2 separate regions of the Homo sapiens genome follow, and region 1 is linked to region 2. Evidence: promoter capture Hi-C in 16 types of primary human blood cells and fetal thymus (Javierre and others, 2016). All regions are on one chromosome and are shown on one strand. The core of a region is centred on a gene start or on the middle of the fragment in contact, and the rest is flanking DNA. Distances in the headings are between cores, read along the strand shown.

What was found. Contacts are between HindIII fragments. The CHiCAGO score rates a contact against its expected background, and 5 or more counts as called.
Region 1: a fragment that was not itself captured here is called in contact with the fragment with the promoter of ZNF200 in region 2 in 1 of 17 cell types (naive CD4 T cells); the score reaches 5.5 in naive CD4 T cells.

What each region holds. Positions count from the first base shown.
Region 1 is chr16:3,378,130-3,382,730 of GRCh38, reverse strand. It overlaps ZSCAN32 (zinc finger and SCAN domain containing 32), which reads left to right. Exons shown (of 7, transcript NM_001284527.2): 7 at 1-646. The region is part of intron 1 of LOC105371059 (a long non-coding RNA gene); the gene reads right to left. Among named protein-coding and RNA genes, the nearest start is that of ZSCAN32, 21 kb to the left of the region's middle. The HindIII fragment of the contact is 3,418 bases long and covers 1-2,959 here.
Region 2 is chr16:3,233,351-3,237,324 of GRCh38, reverse strand. ZNF200 (zinc finger protein 200) reads left to right here and starts at 2,167. Exons shown (of 5, transcript NM_198088.3): 1 at 2,167-2,338; 2 at 3,489-3,819. The coding sequence starts at 3,570. RefSeq lists enhancers at 1,849-2,058, 2,069-2,128. The HindIII fragment of the contact is 8,399 bases long and covers 1-3,974 here.

The DNA of each region.
Region 1 (4,601 bases), core at 1-2,500, 150 kb before region 2:
ACCCATGTCTAGGACCAGGAGTCAGCATAAGGACGCTGACCTCTCCTGGCTGTGCCTGTGACTCCAGAGTCCTATCTTACTGTGACTTAAAGTTTGATGGAGAGAAAGCTGTAGGATCCATAAATTCTACCAGGAAACCAGGGTCTTCCTGTTCCTAGCACTGAGAATGGGCACCCAGTGGTCCAAGAACACTTTCTGGGCTAACATAGTCCTCACACAGGGCTGAGAAAGAAAGTGTCTCCTTTCCTGGAAAGCACATGTAAAAGTTAAGGGCCTGAATCTCTTCTAAACCAATAATTGACCTCTAGGCACCCACCGTAATACTGCTACCTTCAGGGCAGAAGACACTGCTCTTTGTAACCCAGCCACCACCAAAAAGCAAACAGAAAGAAGGAAGGATGGTTAAGCCATTGGATAATACTGAATCTGTTTCCCTAAGTGACTTAACCTTAGAGCAAGCACAACATCCAGGTTAATTTTTTGTAAGATTTCTCCTTTTATTATTGCCCTCATCATAGTTCCTGATTGTCTCTTAAAGTAAGTGGTTTATAGACATTACTATTTCTGATAATAATTTACAAACTACTATAAACAAATTTATAAACATTACTAATTTCTGATGAAAATAAAGTTGTTTCTCCCTCCACTTCCTTGGCCTTTGGTTGTAATTTTCTCCATCAGAAACTATACTCGTGCAGAAGCCTGCAGGGTCCTGAAAATGATGTATGTAAGTGTAGAGCCTGCTTCAGGGCAGTAGGACATGCAGAGAAGGAATAGGGGTAGGAAATGGGGAAGAGGGAATTAATTGGATTGGGAAGGGTTTGTGCCATCATGAGAGGGAAGATCACAGAAACAAGGGAAAAACAAGGTTCATCAAGAGATTCTGACTCCTGAAGAGTTTAGTAGATGAGAATGGTAGGTGAAAGGAAGGATGGATATGAGAAACACTAGGAACTAAACTTAAAATTCATCTGTGATGAGTCACAGATAGTTAAACTTTTATGAAATTGCCATGGATAAAAAGTGGTAGAAGATAGGTACATTTGTCTATGGTTGTTGGCTGGTGCACACAAGGTAGTAGGACGTTTTCTAAGGTATGGTGCAAAACAAGCATCATGGTCTCTTGAGCTTTTTGAAAAGTTAAGCATTTGCCCCAAGAATACTTGCCAGCAGCACTGGCAGCTGCAGTGTTTACCCTGAGATAACTTTGCTACAAAATAGCTTGCTTTTATTATTTTTTGAGACAGGGTCTCTCTCTGTCGCCCAGACTGGAGTGCAGTGGTGCGATCTCAGGTCACTGCAACCTCTGCATTCCAGGTTAAAGCAATTCTCGTGCCTCAGCCTCCCAAGTAGCTGTGACTACAGGCCTGCACCACCATGCCCAACTAACAGGGTTTTGCCATGTTGACCAGGCTGGTCTTGAACTGGCCTCAAGTGATCCTCCTGCCTCAGCATCCCAAAGTGTTGGGATTACAGGTGTGAGCCACTGCTCCTGGCCATCTCTCTTTTATTATTTTCGCATTGCTCTAGTATATCAACTTTGGAAACAAAAGACATCATTCTATTTACAGCATTTAGTAGTGGTATTTCCTTTTACAAAATACAGTAATTCTCAATCGCTGAAAATGTCAAATCCTAGAAAACATAGCATTCTTACATATGATAACATCATTCTCTAACAGTTGTAAGCCAAAGATCTATTTGATGAATCTGATTTTTCTGAAAGACAATTCTGATGATTCAGGCAATTCTAATGTTATTTCTGTTTAGAAATAACTCCAAGAACAGTTTTTATATTTTATTTTCACATTGAAAATCAGTCACATTTGCTTCACCCTCAGAGAGCATGTTTATATGAAATTAAATGAGTGCTGGCAGCGAGCTTCACTTTTTTTCTAAGTGAGAAAAGTTAAATATGAGCAAAGGAGAATGTGCTTTCTACCTCAAATCCAGAAGAAAAAGAATTTAAGGGGACGAAGGAGAAGCAAAGGCAGAAGAGGAGAATATACTTTTGTTTCTTTATTGAGCTCTGCCTGGGCCACTGCTTCTCTCTGCATTTGCTGTCCTCGACCATGCCCCTAAGGAGAAGCTCTGCAGGACAGCTCCGAAAGTCACATATTTCACAGCCTCTGCTCAACTCAGAAAAAAACATCTTCAAAGGGCCTCGACAAAGAGGTGGGCTGGAATGTGACCTATTTGGGACACCATGACTTCATTGGTGATTCATGGTGGAGAAGAGGAGACAGGAGTGGACTAGTTACTGATGGGCTTTGGATTATCAGCTCAGAGAAGGTGGCTGGATAAATGAGGAGAGCCAGTGCAAGTCAACGGAAGAGATAAGGAAAGTGAGACACTTCGGGGCCTCACTAGTAGGCTCCTCCCATTCCTGGGCCTACCGTGGCCAGGTAAATGGGGGTACAACTGTTGAACTCCTTGCATGTTTAGGTTGCCTCTGCCCTCCAGGCTGCTTTGTCCTCTAGTCTGCTGGGCAGAAAAATGAAAACAAGTACCGTTAGAGTCTCCAATCCATGCCTGTCAGCCACTCTAGATGACCTGAAGTAGACAGGTAAGGGTTGGGAGAATCCATTCATTTATTCCGGAAACATGTGATTGCCTATAATATATGAGGTACTGGAGCCAAATATAAAGCAGTGAACAGGGCCAGGGGTGGTGGCTCACACCTGTCATCCCAGCACTTTGGGAGGCTGAGGTGGGCCGATCGCTTGAGCTCAGAAGTTTGAGACCAGCCTGGGCAACATGGCAAAGCCCCATCTCTACAAAAAAATATAAAAAATTAGCCTGGAGTGGTGGTACGTGCTTGCAGCTATTCGAAAGGCTGAGGTGGGAGGATGGCTTGAGCCCAGGAGGCAGAGGTTACAGTAAGCCAAGATCACACCACTGCACTCCAGCGTGCAAGATTCCCCATGTTAAGCGGAAAAAAAAAGCAGTGAACAAAGCTTCTTCCAGAAGCAGCCTCATTGGACTCTTCAGAGGTATCAGCACCAGTCAGGCAACACTGCCCAGCTCCCAGCTCCCAACCCCCAGCACCCTCGCCAAATCCAAGTCCCAGCTCTGCGGGGCCTCTCTTCCAAGCTTCCAAGGTCTGGTAAACCCAACCCTTTCTCTATCCAGACCCCATGTGTGGTAGCTGTTTCCTACAGTTACTATCTCTGTCACTGCAGTTTTCCCTTTACACTTTTTTTTTCAATTCTACCACACCCACTTTACAAATTCTTTACATTAAGTCCCCTCTTTGAAACATCAAGAATGGTTTCTGTTTTCCTGACTGGACTTTATTATCACATGTGATGCTAAGAGTTTGGATTTTATGATAAGTATAATGGGAAGCCACTGAATAATTAGGCAGGGAAAGACACAATTCTCTTATTCTGGCTGCTGTGTGGAGAATAGGTCAGAAGAGCTAAAAGTGGTAGCAAGGGGCAGGGCGCGGTGGCTCACGCCTGTAATCCCAGCACTTGGGGAGGCTGAGGCGGGCGGATCATGAGGTCAGGAGATCGATACCACCCTGGCTAACAGGGTGAAACCTGTCTCTACTAAAAATACAAAAAGTTAGCTGGGCATGGTGGTGGGTGCCTGTAGTCCCAGCTACTCGGGAGGCTGAGGCAGGAGAATGGCGTGAACCCGGGAGGCAGAGCTTGCGGTGAGCCGAGATCAGGTCACTATACTCCAGCCTGGGCAAAAGAGTGAGACTCCATCTCAAAAAAAAAAAAAAAAAAAGTGCTAGCAAAGAGACCAGGTAAGACTTTCTTAGCTGTGAGGTCTAGAAACTCAGTTGTCTAGTCTAGTGATGGCAGTGGATACAGAAAAAAGTGGATGGGTTTTGTACATTTTGGGCGCATAGTCAACATAATGTAGCGGTGATAGATTAGTTATGGAGGTGAAGGAGAGAGTTCTCATCTATGTCTATTACTAGGGATTTCCTATTATTATCTGGGTCAATGGGTGAAACTCAAATAAGTGGAGGTCAGAGAGGGAAAAGTAACTCACAGAAAGAAAGGAGAGATACAACCCCACATGGAAAGCAGGCCCTCTAAGTGGTATCTTTGAGAGGGAGAGTAGATTATCATCTCTCTTCTAGAAATGGAAATACTTCTTAGAGGGAGGAAGGATGGGCACACAACAGTCTTTGGCTCAATCCACAGTAAAGACAGAATTATAATCCAGGTTTCCCAGGGTGCAGAGGGCTCTCTTCTTACTAAGTCTTTTATGTAACTCTTCTAGGAGGGAATGTTTACTACCACTTAGCTTTTGGGCTGGGTCTTGGGGGCTAGGAGTCCAGCCAGGTTGGCTCCTCAATGTCCTCTGGTCCATTTCTTCATGGAGGGGACAGGGCTTTGGCACATGGCTGCTGCTCTCCTTGTGACGTTCATCTGGAGACACTTCAACTTGCTGTGACACAGCTCTGGATGTGCAAATAACCCAGCTCCTCAGGCTGCACAGCTATTGTTTTGGGCACCTTGCATTATCAGTACCAGGTTAGGTATTTTCACTAAACTGCTGTTTATCAAGGATGGTGAGGAAGGTCTTTGTTTCTTCAGCACCCTAGTGCATACCTTCCACCAGGAGGGTACACTCAGAAT
Region 2 (3,974 bases), core at 918-3,417:
CTGGCCATCCCATGAGTAACCATTTTAATAATCTATTGTGTATCCCTCAACACAAACATACACAAGGTGTTTTGTTTGTTCCAAAAATATAATTATGCATAATATATGTAGCTCTGAAACTTTTTCATGTAATATTTTATGGCCATCCCTCCAGGTGTACATATAGTTCCAATCCATTCTTTTTCATAGCTGGGTAATTTCCAGAGTATGAATGCACCAATTTACTCCTTTCCTTACGTATGAACATGCATGTCATTTCTAGTTTTTGTCACTACAAAGAATTCTACAAGAAATTTGTAGACATCAGATTCACAGATGAGATTGTGAAGGTCAAAGGGTACATACTTGTACTTTTAATTTTAATATATATTACAAGATGACTTCACACACCACACTACCAGCGAAAGGAGTGCCTATTTCTCCACCTTCATTGTTTGATAGGTGAAAAATGTGGTTCCCTTTAAAAGTGATAATCTTGACTAGTAGTGTGGTTAAGCATCTTTTTAAATGTTAATGACCAATTAGTTTTCCTCCTCTCGGGAAGAGCTCCTCATTGCCTTTGCTTTTTGTCAGTTGGCAGGGGTTCATTTTGTCTTAGGAATGTATAATCTTTTGTGTAGCTAATCTTTACAATTATCTTCCAGTCTATTTCTTGTTTGTTAACAGAGTCAAGAAAAAGTTCTTAAAAAATACAATCACACAGGTTTATATTTTACTTCAAGACATCTCAGTTATCTGTTTTGCCTCATAATTCAAACCATAATGCTTTGATTAACGGAGGCTTTTTAGTAAATTTTGATCTGAAAAGGCAGATATTCCTTATTTTTCTAGAATGTCTTGGTGCCACACAGTTTTCATACTCGTTTCTTTGTAACATATTTTAAGCCATCGTCAGCCATTAGTCAGGTATAATTAACTTTAAGAAGAGGCATTCATTTATATTTTTACTTTTGTCAACTTTCTGGAGGCTGGTATTACATCGAGAAATAAGGCCATCCCTGCCCACAAGTTGTCCGAACCCTGATCAGTGCGTCACTGGGGAACGAACCGAGTGTGGATACAACGCACAAACACAAAACTCTGTTCGGCCTCCGTAGGAAGCTGAAATTGAGAAAGGAAACCGAGACAGTAGGAGAAGGGCAATTAAGATGTCTTTAAAAACAAGACGGCCGGTGCGGACAGCAGTGTAGAAGTTAGCAAGCTGGAGTGGGCAATGTCGGTGCCCCATCTCTAACCTATGGGAGTCACCAGAGCGGGGGCGGAGTCCCATGGCGGCCACACCCTGTCCGCCTCCGCAGTCTTTTTACTGGAGAACCGCAGTAAAAGGCGGAAACCGCGGAGGCGTCTTGATTTTCCGGTCGGAGAGATAGCTTGCTTCCTTTAAGCCTCGGGGTAGGGGGGTGGGGAGGGTAGGGGGGTGGGGAGGGTAGGGGGGTGGGGAGGGTAGGGGGGTGGGGGGGTGGGGAGGGTAGGGGGTGGGGGGGTGGGGAGAGTAGGGGGGTGGGGAGAGTAGGGGGGTGGGGAGAGTAGGGGGTGGGGGGGTGGGGAGAGTAGGGGGGTGGGGAGAGTAGGGGGTGGGGAGAGTAGGGGGGTGGGGAGAGTAGGGGGGTGGGGAGAGTAGGGGGGTGGGGGTTGGGGGGTGGCGCCGTGGGGGGTGGCGGGGTGGGGGGTGGGGGGTGGGGAGAGTAGGGGGGTGGGGGGTGGGGAGAGTAGGGCGGTGGGGGAGTGGCGGGGTAGGGGGGTGGCGGGGTGGGGGGTGGGGGGAGCGCGGGCGCTGGGTGGGCGGGGGGTGGGGCGGTGGGGGGGCCTGCCCCGCCCCAACCGCCGCGCCTGACGGTCGTCCATTGGTTGTTTGCATTCGAACTACATTTCCCAGCAGGCCCTGGGGTTAGACTGGCCGCAGCTGGAGAGGTGCCAGCCCGTCGTGGATGACTAGAGCCAACCACCTGCCTTCCGTCTTCCAGGCAGAACCACAGAGAGGCTACAGCCGTCCTGGCCTCCCTCCGGCCCTGAGAGCTCCTCTGGCCTGTCTCAAGTCTTAACGTCTCAAGCGCAGACTGCCGGCTCCGAACGGGGAGACCAGGCTTCTGCACCGGAAACAAGGCACCGGTTGTGACGTCACAGCCGCAGAGCGCCCGACTTCCCAGAAGGCACCGAGTCCCTGCCGTTCTCCTCAACTGGCGGCGGCGCGAACGAATAGTCGCCGGCGACCTGTGAGGGCACTCGGAAGGGCGAGGGGAGGGCTCGACCGCTCGCGCCTAGTTTTTCTATCTCTCCCGGAGCCTGAGTCTCTGAGCCGTCCCCAGCAAACGCTCAGGGGCTGCAGAGGCCCCGAGAGGTGAGGGGCTCCGTGAGGGCGGGAACCAGGCTGAGGCCGCCTCTGGGGAGCGGAGCGTGTCCGTTGCTGAGGGAGCAAGGCCGGGTAGGGAGCCTGGTGAGCGCCTCAGGCAGGGGCGCACGCTGAGCTTTACGGTAAAGGTGTTCCTTGACCAGCGGAAGAGGCCCCAGAGTGAGCCTGGCCCGGCGGTCCTTAGTGGGATGTCGCCTGCCGCTCTCAGCAGAGCTTTGACGGCGGAGAGGAGTCGGCAGGCGGTGTGTGGACACCTCCTCGGCCTTGCATCTGCTCCCCGGGAGAGTCACCAACCGCCTCCCCGCCCAAAGGGCACCGGAGGGAGCTTCGGTTCGAGGGGTACAGTATGGCCAGATTCAGTGACCAACCTGCTTTTAGGCAGATGTCCTCGGTATTGACCCCAGATTTCCTGTCTTCTAGCCCATTGCTCTTTCTCCAAGCCTGATTTAACCTATTCCTGGTGGGTTTTACACACCGTCTTTCTTTCTGTCTTTTCTTTCTTTTTCCTTTTATTTTCTTTCTCTTCCCTGATTCCCTTCCTCCTTCTTTCCTTTCTCTTTTCCTTTCTTTTTTTAGAGTCAGGGTCTTGCTTTGTCGCTCAGACTGCAGTGCAGTGGCGCGATCACAGTTCACTGCAGCCTCGACCTCCTGGGCACAAGCAATCCTCCCAGCTCCCCAGTAGCTGGGACCACAGGCTTGTGTCGCCACGCCCAGCTAATTTTTTTTTTTTTTATGGAGTCGGTGTCTTGCTGTGTTGCCCAGGCTGGTCTTGAACTCCTGGACTCAAGCGATCCACCCGCCAGGGCCTTCCAAAGTGCTGGGATTACAGGTGTGAGCCACCGGTACCTGGCCACACTTTGTATTTCTCAGGAGGCTGGACCTTGGCCTTCTCCGCTCCACCCTTACTCCCTTCCCTTTGGACTTGAGGTTTGCACAGTCTCTGTTTTTCATTCTCAGGATCTTCCTTTCACATCTTCCTAAGCATATCTTGTTCAAATACTGCGTTTCAGTTATGATTTCCCTATCCCAGCTGTCGTTTTCTTTAGATCTCATGTAGCCTCACCAGCCATGCCACATATTGGAGTGCAGTAATGCCGTGCCTGGTCTTTTGGGTAATCCCTGGTTTCTCTGTCTACAGCTTGGCTCTCTGGCAGATTTCCTCTAGTAAGAGGTGGCTCTGGAGGCCCCGCGAAACGAGTGTGGTGTGTGGTTGCAAGGCATGATGGCTGCAAAAGTGGTTCCTATGCCCCCAAAGCCAAAGCAGTCCTTTATACTGAGAGTTCCGCCAGACTCCAAGCTGGGCCAAGACCTACTTCGAGATGCCACTAACGGGCCCAAGACCATCCACCAGCTAGTGCTGGAGCACTTCCTCACCTTCTTGCCCAAGCCAAGCCTGGTCCAGCCCAGTCAGAAAGTCAAGGAGACCTTGGTTATTATGAAAGATGTGAGCTCAAGCCTTCAGAACAGAGGTGAGAAGCACATGCTTGTTTCACTAGAAGAGGAGGAGGAGGTACTGGAGTCTAAGATAGGTTTCTGTGTTAGTTATAAATTCAAGTTAGGATGGTGTATATTGGAAAAGGAGTCAATTCTAGTGTTGGAAAGAGGAAGTTCTTCTCAAGTGCTG